Linked DNA regions of Homo sapiens: all the other regions are linked to region 3. The links are contacts of gene promoters, found by promoter capture Hi-C in blood cells and fetal thymus (Javierre and others, 2016). All regions are on one chromosome and are shown on one strand. Each heading gives the region's core, a stretch centred on a gene start or on the middle of the fragment in contact. The rest is flanking DNA. Distances are from core to core; before and after follow the strand shown.

The links. The method cuts DNA at HindIII sites, captures the fragments that hold promoters and counts their contacts. A CHiCAGO score of 5 or more calls a contact.
Region 1: a contact is called between a fragment that was not itself captured here and the fragment with the promoter of OPN5 in region 3, in 3 of 17 cell types (non-activated CD4 T cells, activated CD4 T cells and total CD8 T cells). The highest score is 5.9, in non-activated CD4 T cells.
Region 2: a contact is called between a fragment that was not itself captured here and the fragment with the promoter of OPN5 in region 3, in 1 of 17 cell types (naive CD4 T cells). The highest score is 5.1, in naive CD4 T cells.

Annotation. Positions count from the first base shown.
Region 1 is chr6:47,389,294-47,392,033 of GRCh38, reverse strand. All of the region lies in intron 2 of LOC105375082 (a long non-coding RNA gene), which reads left to right. Among named protein-coding and RNA genes, the nearest start is that of TNFRSF21, 81 kb to the right of the region's middle. The HindIII fragment of the contact is 1,799 bases long and covers 426-2,224 here.
Region 2 is chr6:47,428,864-47,431,563 of GRCh38, reverse strand. No RefSeq gene overlaps it. Among named protein-coding and RNA genes, the nearest start is that of CD2AP, 48 kb to the left of the region's middle. The HindIII fragment of the contact is 934 bases long and covers 835-1,768 here.
Region 3 is chr6:47,780,704-47,783,403 of GRCh38, reverse strand. It overlaps OPN5 (opsin 5), which reads right to left and starts at 1,372. Exons shown (of 7, transcript NM_181744.4): 1 at 1,208-1,372. The coding sequence starts at 1,337. The HindIII fragment of the contact is 3,260 bases long and covers 1,205-2,700 here.

The sequences.
Region 1 (2,740 bases), core at 76-2,575, 390 kb after region 3:
AAGGACCAAGCAGATCCCTAAAGTCCCTGATCCCAGGCCTTAGCTCCTGGATGGCATTTCTAAACCTGCCCTGGGCCAGAAGGGAACCCATTGCCCTGAAGGGAGAGTCCTAGGACTGGCAAGATTTATCACTTGCTAACTGAAGAGCCCTTGGGCCTTGAATAAACAGCTGTGGTAGCCAGTCAATACTTGCCATGAGTGTGGAGCTACAGTGGCTACAGGGAGAGACTTCTGCTTGAGGAAAGGAGAAAAAAGATTAAAAAGAACTTTGTCTTGCAACATATATGTCAGCTAAGCCACAGTAAAGTAGAGCACCTAGTAGATTCCTAACATTCCTGACTCTAGGCTCTGGCTCCTGGACAGTATTTCTAGACCCACCCTGGGTCACAAGGGAACCTGCTATTTTGAAGGGAAAGACACAAGCTTAGTTGGATTTACCACCTGCTGACTAAAGAACTTTTGGGCCTTGAACAACCATCAGCAGTAGCCAGGCAATGGTTACCACAGGCCTTTGCCAACTGCTAGTACTGTTCTGGCTTCAGGTCTGACCAAGCACAGTCTCAGTGGTGGTGGCTATAGGGGTGCTTGTGTCACACCTTCCCCAACTCCAGGCAGCATAGCATAGAGGAGAGACTCCTTTTGTTTGGGGGAGAATAAGGAAAGAGAACAGAGACACTGCCTGATAATACAGGGAATTCACCTGGGTCTTTCTCAAGACCAATAAGGTGATATCTATATGAGTCTGTAAGAGTCTGCATTAAGGGGCTTGAGGTGCCCCCTAAAGCAGATAAAGCTGCAGTGACCAAAGATTTACAACACAATACTCAATTCACTTTCAATACTTGGAAAGCCTTCTCAAGAAGGATGGGTATAAACAAGCCCACACCATGAAGACTACAATAAATATCTACCTCTTCAATGTCTAGATACAGATGAACATCCACAAGCATCAAGACCATCCAGGAAAGCATGACCTCACCAAACAAAGTAAAAATGGCAGTAGAGACCAATCCTGCAGAGGCAGAGATCTTTGGCGTTTCAGACAGAGAATTCAAAATAGCTACTTTGAGGAAGGTCAATGAAATAACAGATCGATGAAAGATCAAGACAACACAGAGAAGAAATTTAGAATCCTTTCCAGATAAATTTTAAAAAGAGATTGAAATAATTTTTAAAACTCAAGCAGAAATTCTGGAGCTGAAAAATTCAACTGATATACTGAAGAATGCATCAGAGTCTCTCAATAGCAGAATTAATCAAGCAGAAAAAAAAATTAGTGAGCTTGAAGACAGACTATTTGAAAATACACAGTGAGAAAAGGCAAAAGAATAAACAGAGTAAAAAAGAAGTGGGCCAGGTGCAGTGGCTCACACCTGTAATCCTAGCACTTTGGGAGGCCGAGGTGGGTGGATCATCGAGGTCAGGAGTTTGAGACCAGCCTGGCCAACATGGAGAAACCCCTTCTCTACTAAAAAAATACCAAAAATTAGCTGGGTGTGGTGGCATAATCCCAGCTACTTGGGAGCATGAGGCAGGAGAATCACTTGAACCAGGGAGGCAGAGGTTTCAGTGAGCTGAGTTTGTGCCACTGCACTCCAGCCTGGGCAACAAGAGCGAAACTCCATCTCAAAAAAAAGAAAAGAAAAAAGAAAAAGAAAAAGGAGGAAGTATGCCTATAAGATTTAGAATATAGCCTCAAAAGGGCAAATCTAACGGTTATTGGCCTTAGGACAGACACACACACACACACATGCACACACACACACACACACACACACACACACAGAGAGAGAGAGATATCAGGGTACAAAGTTAATTCAAAGGGATAATAACAGAGAAATTTTGAAACCAAGGAAAAGATACCCGTATTCAAGTACAAGAATAATGCAGAACACCAAGCAGATTTAATCCAAATAAGACAACTTCAAGACATTTAATAATCAAATTCCCAAAGGTCAAGAATAAAGAAAGGATCCTAAAAGCATCAAGAGAAAAGAAAATAACATACAAAGGAGCTCCAATATGTCTGGCAGCAGAGTTCTCAGTGGAAACCTTACAGGCCAAGAGAGAGAGTGGCATGACACTAACACGCTGAAAGAAAACAATGTTTACTAAAGTGCTGAAAGAAAACAACTTTTATTATAGGATCCTAGAGCTTTTATCCAGTGAAAATATTCTTCAAACATGGAGGAGAAATAAAGACTTTCCCAGACAAACAAAAGCTTAGGATTTTCATCACCATCAGACCTGTCCTACAAGAAGTGCTAAAAGGAGTTCTTCAATCTGAAATGAAAGGATGTTAATGAGCAGTAAGAAATCATCTAAAGGTACAAAGCTCACTGGCAATAGTAAGTACACAGACAAATCCAGAATATGATAACACTGTAATTGTGGTTTGTAAAGGACTCATATCTTGAGTAAGAAGACTAAAAGATGAACCTATCAAAAATAATAACTACAACAACTTTTCAAGACATAGCATAAAACAAAAAAGTTAAAAATGGAAGGATGTTGTTAAAATGTAGACTTTTATTAGTTTTCTATTTGCTTGTTTGCTAGTTTGTCTGTTTATGCAATATGTTAAGCTGCCATCAATTTAAAATAATGGGGTATAAGATGTTATTTGCAAGCCTCATGGTAACCTCAAATTTAAAAACCTACAACAGATACACAAAAAAATAAAAAGCAAGAAATTAAAACATACCACCAGAGAAAATCATCTTTGCAACAAGAAGGACAA
Region 2 (2,700 bases), core at 52-2,551, 350 kb after region 3:
GAAAAGCAGAAGACCCCTAAAAAGGGGATGAATTGTGCCTTTTTCTGAGTTCCTTGAGGGGTCTGAGTCATTAGGAGTTGACATAGTTTGGATGTGTGCCTAGCCCAAATCTCATGTTGAAATGCAATTGCCAGTGTTGGAGATGGAGCCTGGTGGGAGGTGATTGGATCACGAGGGCGTTTCTCATGAATGGTATAGCACCATCCTTTGGGTGCTCTCCTTGTGGCAATGAGTGAATTCTCATAAAATCTGGTCATTAAAAAGTGTGTGGCACCTCCCCTCTCTCTTGGTACTGCTTTCACCACGTGGTGTTGTTATAAATAAACTTTTGGTGCCGCAAAAGAAATAGCACTCGAATATAAAATTTTACTTTCAATTCTCAGCAAGGCAAGTTACTTCTATAGAAGGGTGCACCCTTACAGATGGAGCAATGGTGAGTGCACACTTGGACAAGGGAGGGGAAGGGGTTCTTATCCCTGACGCATGTGTGGCCCCTGCTGCTGTGTCGTTCCCCTATTGGCTAGGGTTAGACCGCTAATTTAAAGAGAGTGACGGGGTGAGTGGTTTGGTGGGAAAAATGGTTATGACAGAGCATGTAATCGGAATGTATCAGGGTGGAGTAGGTAATAGGAATGAATCAGGGTGGAGCAGGTAATCGGAATGAGTCAGGGTGGAGCAGGTAATCAAAAAAGGTTGCTTTAACAGGAAGTTAAGTTTAAAAGTAGAAGGCAAAAAATTGAACATACTAACATATTGATTCTTTGGAAAGAAATTGAGAACTCATATCTAACAGTGTGACTGCTCCCCCTTCACCTTCTGCCATGATTGTAAGCTTCCTGAGGCCTCCCCAGAAACAGATGTTGCTATGCTGCTTGTATAGCCTGCAGAACTGTGAGCCAATTAAACCTTTCTTTATAAATTATCCAGTCTTAGGTATTTCTTTATAGCAATGTGAGAACAGACTAATACAGCAGTCTTCTCTAGATCCTTCCATGTGGTATTGGAGATGACAAAAAGGAAGAAGTAGGGAGGAATAAAAATAAATGAGATAACTTGATTTTTATTTTTATTTTTTTTTTGAGATAGGGTCTTGCTCTGTACCCCAGGCTGGCATGCAGTGGTGTGATCATAGCTCACTGCAGCCTTGAACTCCCAGGCAAGCAATTCTCCCACCTTAGATATTGGCTTTTAATTAAGCTGACTTCTAATCAGAGAGCTCTTAAAAAAAAAATTCTTTCAAATCTCTTATAATGACTTTTTGGCCAGGACAAACAGTTGATATTTGTGGCTTTTGAACTTTTTTTTAACCAGCTATATCCTTCCAAGTGAAATCAATAAGTGTTAATCAAGGTTATGACTTAACCAAAGATGCACGAGGCTTCTCCAAAGAGGTTGAAAGCAGTCCTCAGAAGATCAGATGCCCTGATATGGTGTGGGTCTGTTTCCTCATCCAAATCTCAGGTCAAATTGTAATCCCCATTGTTGGAGGTAGGGCTTGGTGGGAGGTGATTGGATCATGGGGGTGGAGTTCTCATGAATGATTTAGCACCATTCCCCCTTGGTATTGTATGGTGAGTAAATTCTTACAAGATCCGGTTGTCTAAAAGTGTGTCACACCTCCCTCACCCTCTCTTTTTTTCTTGTTCCTGCTTGCTTGTTTTCTTGCTTGCTCCCACTCCAGCCATGTAAGATGTGCCTGCTTCTCCTTCACCTTCTGCCATGATTGGAAGTTTCCTGAGGCCTCCCCAGAAGCAGAAGCTGTTAAGCTTCCTGTACAGCCTGCAGAAGCAGAAGCAGAAGCAGAAGCAGAAGCAGAAGCAGAACTATGAGCCAATTAAATCTCTTTTTCTTAAAAATTACAGAGTTTCTGGGGTTTTTTATAGCAGTGCAAGAATGGACTAATACTGAAAATTGGTACGCAGGAATGGGGCATTGCTATAAAGATACCTGAAAATGTGGAAGCCACTTTGGAACTGCATAACAGGCAGAGGTTGGAAAAGTCTGGAGGGCTCACAAGAAGACAGGAAGATCAGGGAACATTTGGAACTCCCTAGAGACTGGTTAAATGGTTGTGACTGAAATGCTGATAGTGATTTGGAAAATAAAGGCCAGGTTGATGAGGTCTCAGATGGAAATAAGGAACTTACTGGGGACTGGAGCAAAGGTCACTTTTGTTATGCTTTAGCAAAGAATTTGGAGACATTGTGGCCCTGCCCTAAGGATCTGTGGAAATTTAAACTTGAGAGTGACAATTTAGGATATCTGGAAGAAGATATTTCTAAGCAGCAAAGTGTTTAGTATGTGACCTGGATGCTTCTAACAACCTATGCTTATATGCATAAGCAAATAAATGACCTGAAACTGGAACTTATATTTAAAAAGGAAGTAGAGCAAAAATACTTGGAAAATTTGCAGCCTGGCCATGTGGTAGAAAAGAAAAACCCATTTTCAGGGGAGGAATTCAAGCAGGCTACAGAAATTTGCATAACTAAAAGGAAGGCAAGTGCTCATAGCCAAGACAATGGGGAAAAGTCCTGAAATGCATTTCAGTCCCTTTCATCACAGGTCCAGAGCCCTAGAATGGTTTCTTGGGCCAGGCCCAGGACCCTGCTGCCCCCTGCAGCCTCATGACACTGTTCCTGGCATCCCAACTGCTGTAGCTCCAGTCATGGCTCAAAGGGGCCCAGGTACAGCTTGGGC
Region 3 (2,700 bases), core at 123-2,622:
AGAAAGGGAGGAAGGGAAGAAGGGTGGAAGAGAAAGATAGAAACAAAGAGAAAAGAGAGAGAGAGCAAGTTTGACCCAACATCTGAAAAAATTAAAGGCAAACAAACCTAAAGACATAACCCACCTTCACACTGGTCACCCAAAGTTAAAACAACAATTTTAAATTTAAGAAAAGTATGGTTTCTTTTCTTAAATTTAAATAGGTGGTTAAATTAAATCCTAACTGTCTAGATTAGTGCTATCCAGTATAAATGTAATGTAAGCCAGAAATGCGAGCCACATATGGATTCTAAAATTTTCTGGTAGCCACATTAAACAAAGTAAAAATTTACAAAGTAAAAATTTAATTTATAAATTTAAAATTTACAGTAAATTAATTTTAATAATATATTTTATTTAGCTTAACATACCTAAAATGTTGTATGTTCAACATGTATTTAATTTTTAAAAATTATTAATGAGATATTTTATACCACTTTTTGTTGTACTGAGCCTTCAGTATCTGGTGAGTATTTACACTACAGCAACTTTCAATTTGGAAAAGCCACATGTGGCTACTGAATGAATGAGATCATGCAGTCTAGAAGCAGGTGCACCCTTTCGTCAATTATGCACAAAAATCTTTTGACCCCGGACTTTCTTCCATTTATCACCAACACATTTTTCAACTGTCACCAAAATGGCTTAGCTATTTTGATGCGACTTTACTTTTAGGTGAAGTAAACTCAGTGTTTCTGCCATTACTATAGTACTATAGCACAATAGCACAATTGAGTTTTGCACAGTTGTGAGAACAGGAGACTGACCTAGATTATTTTTAAGGCCCATTCTCAACCTAAAACTTATGATTATGTCAAAAACATTATTTAAAAAGCACTCTGTTTAAATAAAATATCATTATCATTAATTTTGGTATTCAGAAAGTAAATCTACTCCCAAAGTAACCAAAATGAAATGGATAAATAATTTTGCTGTAAGAGTTCTTGGATTATCAATGGAATTTTATTCCTAATAATAATGATAATAAAGAGTCATTTCTAGGAAACATTTATTGAATGCCATAATGCCATTCCATCTTCTGCCTTTCCCCACTCTTCGCCTCCACTAAACTATCCACTTAAGTATCAGAATCCTTTCACAAAATTAACATATCAGCCCATGAATTTTCTAAATGCAGCCTTTGCACAGAAGAATTAAGGAAGCTTACCAATTATTGTTAGGTAAAAGCCAGCCACTAAATCCGCTTCCCAAGAAAGTTTGGAAGCAAAAGGATCCCCATCTCGAAGGTAATGGGGCAGGCGCTCGTCCTGAGGCAGGGCAGTGTGATTTAACGCCATTCTGTTCTCGAACCACGAGGGATCTGAAAAGCAAACCAGTAGAGATCTCAGCAGACCTGAATAAGCCAGCTTGAACCATTTCATAATCGTGGCTCCTGTTTTAAAACAAAAAGCAAGTTCCCAGGGTCATGCATGATTCTCTAATTAATAACTGGTAAAAATTTTAACATTTTTTTCAATGATCCAATTATGTCATTACTCAGTTATTCGGTTGGCAGATTATCCAAGCCTTCATTTTCTCCTCTGTTTTCTCATGCTACTCTTTGAGCCACTTCTTTTCTCCTTGGGGTGATTAAAAGGTTGAAGGCCAAACTGTGCAATTTACTGTTTCTTAGCAATTTTTGTAAAGGTCTGAGCAGGAAATGATATTGTATGGAGTGTGCACACATACACACACACACACTATATATATATAATTTATGTATATAAATTATATATAATATATAAAAAATTTACATATGTATATATATAACTTGTCAGAATATAGTATTTTTTGATTATCCAGATTTCCCAGAAAATCATTTCCATTGTACATTCAATGAGGTTTAGAGTTTTGTAAGGAAAGAAATAGAGCATTCAGTACAAAGGAACATGGACACTTAATTAATTGAAGCTAAGAGCTAGGTGATTGTCAAAGTGATCTTGAAATTTGGAGCTATTTAGAAAGGATTCAAGCTGGGTTGTAACTCACAGGCACATCCACAGGAAGGTTTGTTTCTCAAGTTTCCTAGAGCAGAAAGCAATTTCATTATTTCTCACCACTGCCCCAAATCCATACTTTCTATTTGCTCATTTATGCTTCTGGATGAAATCTTGAGCATTGAGGAATTTCTCAGATACACAGGTCTTAGTACTGTTTCTTTTGAATTGGAGTTTTAAAAGGTTTACACAAAGTCTTTGATGGGCTTTCTGCAAAAATAAAAGTCACATGATATCCCTCATCCTGAAACTTGGAGTCGTGTGTTGTTCTTCAGATAAAGTATGCTGCTGATGTTAAAACTTCCTTTGGAAGGGTCATTCCTTTGTCATGATTGTTCCTATTTGTTTTGAAAGGGGAAGAAATACTAGTGTGGCTGTTTCTCTTTTGAACTTGCCTATTTCAAATCGAACCAACAGATGTCACTGTTCAGCTCTCTAGGCAACAATTTCGGGCATTATATGAGACAGCAAGTGGAACACAGAGTTGTGTGCCCCACAGGCGGTGACAGGGTGATCGGCACATATCTAACCATGTAATTCACCTTCGCAAAAGACATGAATTTAACCCCTTTCTAACTGCCAACTTACAGCTTACAGAGGAAGGCTAGTGACCCTTTCAGTGGCCAGTTGGCTGAAACTACAGTCTCCTACACACAGTTTGAGG